Regions from separate parts of the Homo sapiens genome. Here region 1 is linked to region 2. The links are contacts of gene promoters, found by promoter capture Hi-C in blood cells and fetal thymus (Javierre and others, 2016). All regions are on one chromosome and are shown on one strand. Each heading gives the region's core, a stretch centred on a gene start or on the middle of the fragment in contact. The rest is flanking DNA. Distances are from core to core; before and after follow the strand shown.

Evidence for each region. The method cuts DNA at HindIII sites, captures the fragments that hold promoters and counts their contacts. A CHiCAGO score of 5 or more calls a contact.
Region 1: the fragment with the promoter of HSD17B14 here is called in contact with the fragment with the promoter of NUCB1-AS1 in region 2 in 2 of 17 cell types (monocytes and neutrophils); the score reaches 5.1 in monocytes.

Annotation. Positions count from the first base shown.
Region 1 is chr19:48,834,019-48,837,917 of GRCh38, forward strand. It overlaps HSD17B14 (hydroxysteroid 17-beta dehydrogenase 14), which reads right to left and starts at 2,473. Exons shown (of 9, transcript NM_016246.3): 1 at 2,306-2,473; 2 at 1,787-1,825; 3 at 258-340. The coding sequence starts at 2,393. It overlaps PLEKHA4 (pleckstrin homology domain containing A4), which reads right to left. Exons shown (of 20, transcript NM_020904.3): 20 at 3,079-3,533. The coding sequence ends at 3,271. RefSeq lists a silencer at 3,381-3,450. The HindIII fragment of the contact is 28,283 bases long and covers 1-3,899 here.
Region 2 is chr19:48,917,363-48,921,467 of GRCh38, forward strand. It overlaps NUCB1-AS1 (NUCB1 antisense RNA 1), which reads right to left and starts at 1,529. Exons shown (of 2, transcript NR_046633.1): 1 at 1,342-1,529. It overlaps NUCB1 (nucleobindin 1), which reads left to right. Exons shown (of 13, transcript NM_006184.6): 8 at 1,364-1,422; 9 at 1,668-1,760; 10 at 1,832-1,924; 11 at 3,792-3,962. RefSeq lists an enhancer at 1,728-2,227. The HindIII fragment of the contact is 8,372 bases long and covers 1-4,105 here.

The DNA of each region.
Region 1 (3,899 bases), core at 1,223-3,722, 82 kb before region 2:
TGAGGGACTTATTCATTTCCATCCACATGTTAAATGTGCTAAGAGCCTTGGAGAGGTGTGACAGAAGGAACATGTGACCTGCCCATCAGTCACAGAAGACCTTGTGTGTGGAGTGACACTGGGTGGAAACCTTTGACGAGTCCAGCGGAGCCAGGAGAGGAAGGAAAAGTAGAGGGAAAGGCATATGCAAATGGCTGGAGGAGAACAAAGAACTGGTCATTAGCGGAGATGGGGGTAGGAACAGGAACTCGGCTTACCTTCACATCATCTTCCTGAGTCACATCACAGAGGATAAAGACAGCTCCAGGGAGCTCCTGCTCCAGGGCCCGGCCCCCAGACTCTGCAGGGAGAGAAGAGCTGGGAGCCTGGACCCCTGGGTCTCAGGGAGGAGGGGTTGGGGACTTGGACTCCTGGGTCTGAGGGAGGAGGTGCTGGGGGCCTGGACTCCTGGGTCTGAGGGAGGAGGGGCTGAGGTCTGGACTCCTGGGTCTGAGGAAGTAGGGCCTGGGGGCCTGGACTCCTGGGTCTGAGGGAGGAAGGGCTGGGAGCCTGGACTCCTGGGTCCGAGGAAGTAGGGCCTGGGGGCCTGGACTCCTGGGTCTGAGGGAGGAAGGGCTGGGAGCCTGGACTCCTGGGTCCGAGGAAGTAGGGCCTGGGGGCCTGGACTCCTGGGTCTGAGGGAGGAAGGGCTGGGAGCCTGGACTCCTGGGTCTGAGGGAGGAGGGGCTGGGAGCCTGGACTCCTGGGTCTGAGGGAGGAGGGGCTGGGAGCCTGGACTCCTGGGTCTGAGGGAGGAGGGGCTGGGGGCCTGGACTCCTGGGTCTGAGGGAGGAGGGGCTGAGGTCTGGACTCCTGGGTCCGAGGAAGTAGGGCCTGGGGGCCTGGACTCCTGGGTCTGAGGGAGGAAGGGCTGGGAGCCTGGACTCCTGGGTCTGAGGGAGGAGGGGCTGGGGGCCTGGACTCCTGGGTCTGAGGGAGGAGGGGCTGAGGTCTGGACTCCTGGGTCCGAGGAAGTAGGGCCTGGGGGCCTGGACTCCTGGGTCTGAGGGAGGAGGTGCTGGGAGCCTGGACTCCTGGGTCTGAGGGAGGAGGGGCTGGGGGCCTGGACTCCTGGGTCTGAGGGAGGAGGGGCTGAGGTCTGGACTCCTGGGTCCGAGGAAGTAGGGCCTGGGGGCCTGGACTCCTGGGTCTGAGGGAGGAGGTGCTGGGAGCCTGGACTCCTGGGTCTGAGGGAGGAGGGGCTGGGGGCCTGGACTCCTGGGTCTGAGGGAGGAGGGGATGGGGGCCTGGACTCCTGGGTCTGAGGGAGGAGGGGCTGGGAGCCTGGACTCCTGGGTCTGAGGGAGGAGGGGCTGAGGTCTGGACTCCTGGGTCTGAGAAAGTAGGGCCTGGGGGCCTGGACTCCTGGGTCTGAGGGAGGAGGTGCCAGAGCCTGGACTCCTGGGTCTGAGGGAAGAGGGGCTGGGAGCCTGGACCCCTGGGTCTGAAGGAGGAGGGGTTGGGGACTTGGATTCCTGGGTCTGAGGGAGGAGGTGCCGGAGCCTGGACTTCTGGGTCTGAGGGAGGAGGGGCTGGGGACCTGGACTCCTGGGTCTGAGGGCAGAGGGGCTGGGGGCCTGGACTCCTAGGTCTGAGGGAGGAGGGGCTGAGGTCTGGACTCCTGGGTCTGAGGAAGTAGGGCCTGGGGGCCTGGACTCCGGGGTCTGAGGGAGGAGGTGCTAGGGGTCTGGACCTCTGGGTCTGAGGGAGGAAGGGCCAAGGTGAGGGCTGAGGGACCGTCACTCACCATCCTTGTCGCAGATAACCACTCGGGCCCCGCTGTTCACTGAGAATAGGAAGGGAACAGGTTACTCTCCGAGCCTTGGTTAAAGCCTCTGCCGCCCTCTTGTGGCCACCTGGATTGGGGCTGATCTCCCTCTCCCCTCGTGACCCCAGTCTCATGATCACCCATAGGACAGAGGGCAGACGCCTTGACACATACTCTCCTTGCCTTGTTTCTGCTGAGGCTCCTGAACCCCCGTTCGTGGCTTCCGGAGCAAACTCCACGACTGACAGAGCCATTCCTCAAACCACTGGTTTTGTAGCTACACCAACAGACCCAGAGAAAGGGGCCACTGCCTTCGGAGACCCTGCCAGACTCAGCCCTAGCCTACAGCGCCACACGCTTACTTTAGCCTGCAAATTGGCTTTTATAATATCAGAATCCTGGCTGCAGTACTGGAGTCCCTATTTTCCGCCCCCATCACCCCGCCCCCATCCTTCCTTTCTCACACTCCACAGCTCCCAGCAGTCAGACCCGGCTCACCGAAGGCGCGCACGATCCCAGCTCCGATGCCGCGCCCGCCCCCGGTCACGACCACCACCTTCCCGGCATAGCGCGTTCCCGTAGCCATCCCGTGTACGTCGGTCTCTCTCTCTCTCTACTCTGGGCCTCTTTCACCTCCAAAGCCCCGTGAGGCCGTCGCATCAAATCCTCAATAGAGGCTGGATCCTGGAAGTCCGGCCTCGGGGGGCGTTGCCAGGAAGGCTAGAGACCTGGAAGTTTGTCCCCAGCCCCTCCTCCCTCAGACACTCCTCTCTTCCCACAGACCCAGGAATCCAGGAGCCCCAGTCCCTCCTCCCACAGACCCAGGAATCCAGAAGCCTCAGTCCCTCCTCCCTCAGACTCGGGAGTCCAGGCCCCCAGCCCCTCCTCCCTCAGACTCGGGAGTCCAGCCTCCCAGCCCCTCCTCCCTCAGACCCGGGAGTCCAGCCTCCCAGCCCCTCCTCCCTCAGACCCAGGAGTCAGGGTCCCAGCCCCTCCTCCCTCAGACCCGGGAGTCCAGCCTCCCAGTCCCTCCTCCCTCAGACCCAGGAGTCAGGGTCCCACCCCTTCCTCCCTCAGACCCGGGAATCCTGGCCCAGCCCCCTCCACTCTCAGACCGAGGGATCAGGTTCTCTATCCCTTCTTCCCAGAGACCTATAAGTCCAAGCCCCCTGTCCCTTCCTCTCTCAGGACCCAGGAGTCCACGACTCCAGCTCTGCCCCTCAGAGACACCAGTGCCACAACCCCAGACAGACAGAAAGAAAGCTATTGACTAAAAGTTCAAAGTTTTAATCCAAATTTAGACAGTGTTGAGAAAACCAAACTTTGGCCATAGAAACCATTCCCCTCCCGGGCCCGCAATGGGGACCAGACCACGCCCCCTGATGCCCTGAGTGGTCCCAGATCTCCGGCGGTACCTCCAGACCACGTCCTCGCGCTCCGATTGGCTGCCGCTTTTGGGCGGATTAGAAGCTGGATTGTAGCAGAGTGACTCGCAGAGGCCATGCCCCCTCGTCTTGTGGCAGGACCGGAGGGGCGATCCCGGCATCCCACGCGGGCCCCCAGGGGGTGGGACCTCCTCCACGCCCACTCCCTCGGCGAGAGAACCCCGTGGAACCCGAATTAGCCACCGGGGGAGATCTGGGGGGAGGGGTCTCCTGGCGCGTGGGGTCCGAAGGAGGCAGCGGCACACCGGGAAGAGGGTCTCCCTGGGAGTCCAAATTTCCACCTGGAGAGGATGAGTGGGACATGAGAATGGCAAACCTCAGCGCTAGGACCCCGGATTCCCAGCCCCTCCTCCCTCAGACCCAGGACTCCGGATTCCCAGCCCCTCCTCCATCAGACCCAGGAGTCCAGGCCCCCAGCCCCTCCTCCCTCAGACCCAGGAGTCCAGGCCCCCAGCCCCTCCTCCCTCAGATCCAGGAGTCTGGATACGCCAGTCCAGTCCTCTTTGAGACTCAGTTGTCGGCCCTCTCCCCGCCCCCTGACCTCTTCCTCCCCTCCTCCCAAGTGTCCCGGACCCCAGTCACCTCTTGCCTGAGACCTAAAACTCCCAAACCCTGCCCAACTCTTTACTCACCAAGATAAAAAATTC
Region 2 (4,105 bases), core at 279-2,778:
ACCCAGGCTGGAGTGCAGTGGCGTGATCATGGCTCACTGCAACCCAGACCTCCTGGGCTCAAGTGATTCTTCCACCTCAACCCTTAGAGTAGCTGGGATCATAGGTGCACACCACCATGCCCAGCCAATTTTTAAATTTTTTTTTTCTTTTTGAGGCAGAGTCTTGCTCTGTTGCCCAGGCTGGAGTGCAATGGCATGATCTTGGCACACTGCAACCCCCGCCTCCCAGGTTCAAGCTATTCTCCTGCCTCAGCCTCCTGAGTAGCTGGGGTTACAGGCACTTGGCATTATGCCTGGCTAATTTTTGTATTTTTGTAGAGACGGGGTTTTACTATGCTGGCCAGGCTGGTCTTGAACTCCTGACTTCAGGTGATCCTCCTGCCTCGGCCTCCCAAAGTGCTGGGATTACAGGCGTGAGCCACCGCACCCGGCCCAATTTTTTACTTTTTTTTTTTTTTTTGTAGAGACGGGGTCTAGCCATCTTTTCTAAGCTGGTCTCGAACTTAATGTGCTCAAATGATCTTGCCTTAGCCTTCCAAAGTACTGGGATTACAGGCATGAGCCCCTAAATTTGGCCCCTACATTTTCTTTAATCTTAATCAATTTACATTTAAACAGCCCATGTGGCTAGCGGCTACTGTACTGGACAGCGCAGATCCAGAGTTTAGGCAGAGAAGAGACCCCCAGGCCTGAGCCCTGGGCCACACTAGCATGTGGAGGTCAGGAAGAGGATGGAGCCGTCAAAGGAGGTGGAGGGGCAGCCAGAGAGGACAGAATCATGTTCTGGAAGCCAAGGGCAGAAAGTCAAGTCAGATGCAGGTGGAAATTAACCACTGGATTTGCAAGATGAGGGTTCCTGGCCTCCTCCTCAGGAGGAAGGTTGTGCTTGTCTGAGGGAGCCGAGGAAGGAGGGCCGGTGGTGAGGACAGGAAGTGTGGCTGACCGAGCCTGAAGCCCTGCAGCTGTGGGGTCTACGTTGGTAGGAGAGGCTCCCCTCACAACTGGAGTCGGCACTGGCCTGGTTGTCTGGGAGGCAGAGGTCCCTGATAACCCTGGAGCTGACTCTGTGTCCAGAGCACTGAATGCCAGGGCCAGAGAATCCTGCATGACAGTGACCCAAGCATGTTTCCTCGAACCCTCCCTTTGATCTATTCCATTCTCAACCCCCTGGTCGCTAGGCAGTGGCCCTAGCAACGGGTCTAGTGGGGTACTAAAGCCTGGGGGCCACCGTTCCACCGCGGGAGACCCGTAGTTACCTGTCCTCTGATAACAGACCCCACATCAGCCCAAAATTTCTTCACCAGGGACCTTACACATCCCGTCCTCGGTCCCCTGAGATACCTTGCTATCCTCTTCCCTTCAGATATCAACAGTGATGGTGTCCTGGATGAGCAGGAGCTGGAGGCACTCTTCACCAAGGAGGTGAGCATCTTGGAAGCCTCGGGCACCTGGAGGGACGCCCAAATCAGCCACTTGTTTCCTCCTGCAGTCCCCTTAAATCCCCCTGGATGGGAGCTCAGTGAAAACTACAACTCCCATCAGCCCCTGGGGCAAAAACGGCTCCCAGGAGTGGTAGCGTGCCCAAAGGACTGCTGGGAGTTGAAGTTGTCGGGAATGAGCTCGCTGGGGACCTCTCAATGCTGTCTGCCTCTCGCTTGCTCCTGCAGCTGGAGAAAGTGTACGACCCAAAGAATGAGGAGGACGACATGCGGGAGATGGAGGAGGAGCGACTGCGCATGCGGGAGCATGTGATGAAGAATGTGAGGTGGGGGCCAGGCGGGGGAGAGGACGGGCCCCCAGCTCTGTCACTCACCCTTATCTGGCTCCCCAGGTGGACACCAACCAGGACCGCCTCGTGACCCTGGAGGAGTTCCTCGCATCCACTCAGAGGAAGGAGTTTGGGGACACCGGGGAGGGCTGGGAGGTGAGAACATGGGGGATACTCGGGGTCCTGAACCTCTCTCTCTTCTAGCCATGACCTTTCTTTCAGAATCTTAGGCCCCTTCTCTTTCTCTCTGGGTCCCCGTCCATTCTCCTGGGTCACTGCATCTCTATCTCTGGGTCTCTGTTTTCCCCTGTCTCTAGGACTCTTATTTATTTATTTATTTATTTATTTATTTATTTATTTATTCTGAGACGGAGTCTCACTCCATCGCCCAGGCTGCAGTGCAGTGGCACGATCTCGGCTCACTGCAGCCTCCACCTCCCAGGTTCAAGCAATTCTCCTGGCTCATCCTCTTGAGTAGCTGGGATTATAGGTGCGTGCCACCACACCCAGCTGATTTTTGTATTTTTAGTAGAGGCAGGATTTCACCATGTTGGCCAGGCTGGTCTCAAACTCCTGACCTCAGGTTATCCACCCACCTTGGCCTCCCAAAGTGCTGGGATTAGAGGTGTGATTTTTTTTTTTTTTTTTTTTTTTCTGAAACAGGGTCTTGCTCTGTCGCGTAGGCTGGAGCCCAGTGGTGGGATCTCGGCTCACTGCAACCTCCGCCTCTTGGATTCAAGCGATCCTCCCATCTCAGCCTCATGAGTAGCTGGGATTACAGGCGTGAGCCACCATGCCTGGCTAATTTTTGTATTTTTTGTAGAGATGGGGTTTTGCCATATCGGCCAGGCTGCTCTAGAACTGCTGGACTCAAGCGATCCACCTGACCTGGCCTCCCTAAGTGGTGGGATTACAGGCATGCACCACCGCACCACACCTAGCTAATTTTTGTATTTTTTGGTAGAGACAGGGTTTTGCATGTTGGCCAGGCTGCTCTGAAACTCCTGGACTCAAGCTATCCACCCTTCTCAGCCTCCCAAAGTGCTGGGATTACCCAGGCTGGAGTGCAGGGGTGTTATCATGGCCCACTGCAGCCTCAAACTCCTGTCCTCAAGTGATCCTCCTGCCTGAGCCTCCCTATTAGCTGGGACTACAGGCACATGCCAGCATGCCTAGCTAATCTAGCTCATTCTTTTATTTATTTATTAATATTTTTTGAGACAGGGTCTCCTGTCACCCAGGCTGGAGTGCAGTGGTGTAATCATAGTTCACTGCAGCCTTGAATTCCTGGGCTCAGGTGATCCTCCTTCCTTAGCCTCCTGAGTAACTGGGACTACAGGCACATACCACCATGCCCAGCTAATCTAGGTCTCTGTTTTATTTATTTATTTATTTGTTTGTTTATTTTTCAATACAGAGTTTTGCTCTTGTTGCCCAGGCTGTAGTGCAATGGTGCATTCTCAGCTCATTGCAACCTCCACCTCCCAGGTTCAAGCAATTCTCCTGCCTCAGCCTCCTGAGTAGCTGGGATTATATGCATGTACCACCATGCCCTGCTCATTTTGTATTTTTAGTAGAGACGGGGTTTCTCCATGTTGGTCAGGCTCATCTCAAACTACTGACCTCAGGTGAGCCACCCACCTCGGCCTCCGAAAGTGCTGGGATTACAGGTGTGAGCCATGGTGCCTGGCCTATTTCTATATATTTTTCAAGATGCCCAGCCAATTTTCTGTAGAGACAGGGTCTCGCTCCGTTGCCCAGGCTGACCTTGAACTCCTGGCGTCAAGTGATCCTTCCCACTTTCGCCTCCCAAAGTCCTGGGATTACAGGTGGGAGCCATGGTGCCCGGCCTTGTCTCTCGGTCTTTATCCCACTCCCACCTCCCACTTGGGCTTCTTTGCCCACCCACATGGCCCTGGCCTCCCAGCCTCCTCTACACCTCCCCCATTGGCACAACCCTCTCCAACATGGGTGGGCCGAGGTTGGACCTGTGCCCCTGATGGCCCCTGTGCCTGCCCTGCAGACAGTGGAGATGCACCCTGCCTACACCGAGGAAGAGCTGAGGCGCTTTGAAGAGGAGCTGGCTGCCCGGGAGGCAGAGCTGAATGCCAAGGCCCAGCGCCTCAGCCAGGAGACAGAGGCTCTAGGGCGGTCCCAGGGCCGCCTGGAGGCCCAGAAGAGAGAGCTGCAGCAGGTGACAGCGGGGGAAGCTGCTTCCATCCACTGAATCTCTGGCTGCCCGTGTCCGTGTCCCCATGGGTGTCCAGAAGCTGGGAAGGCCTGTGGCCACCATGTTAATCACTGGGGGAGCCTCAAGTATTCACCGCCATCTTGAGT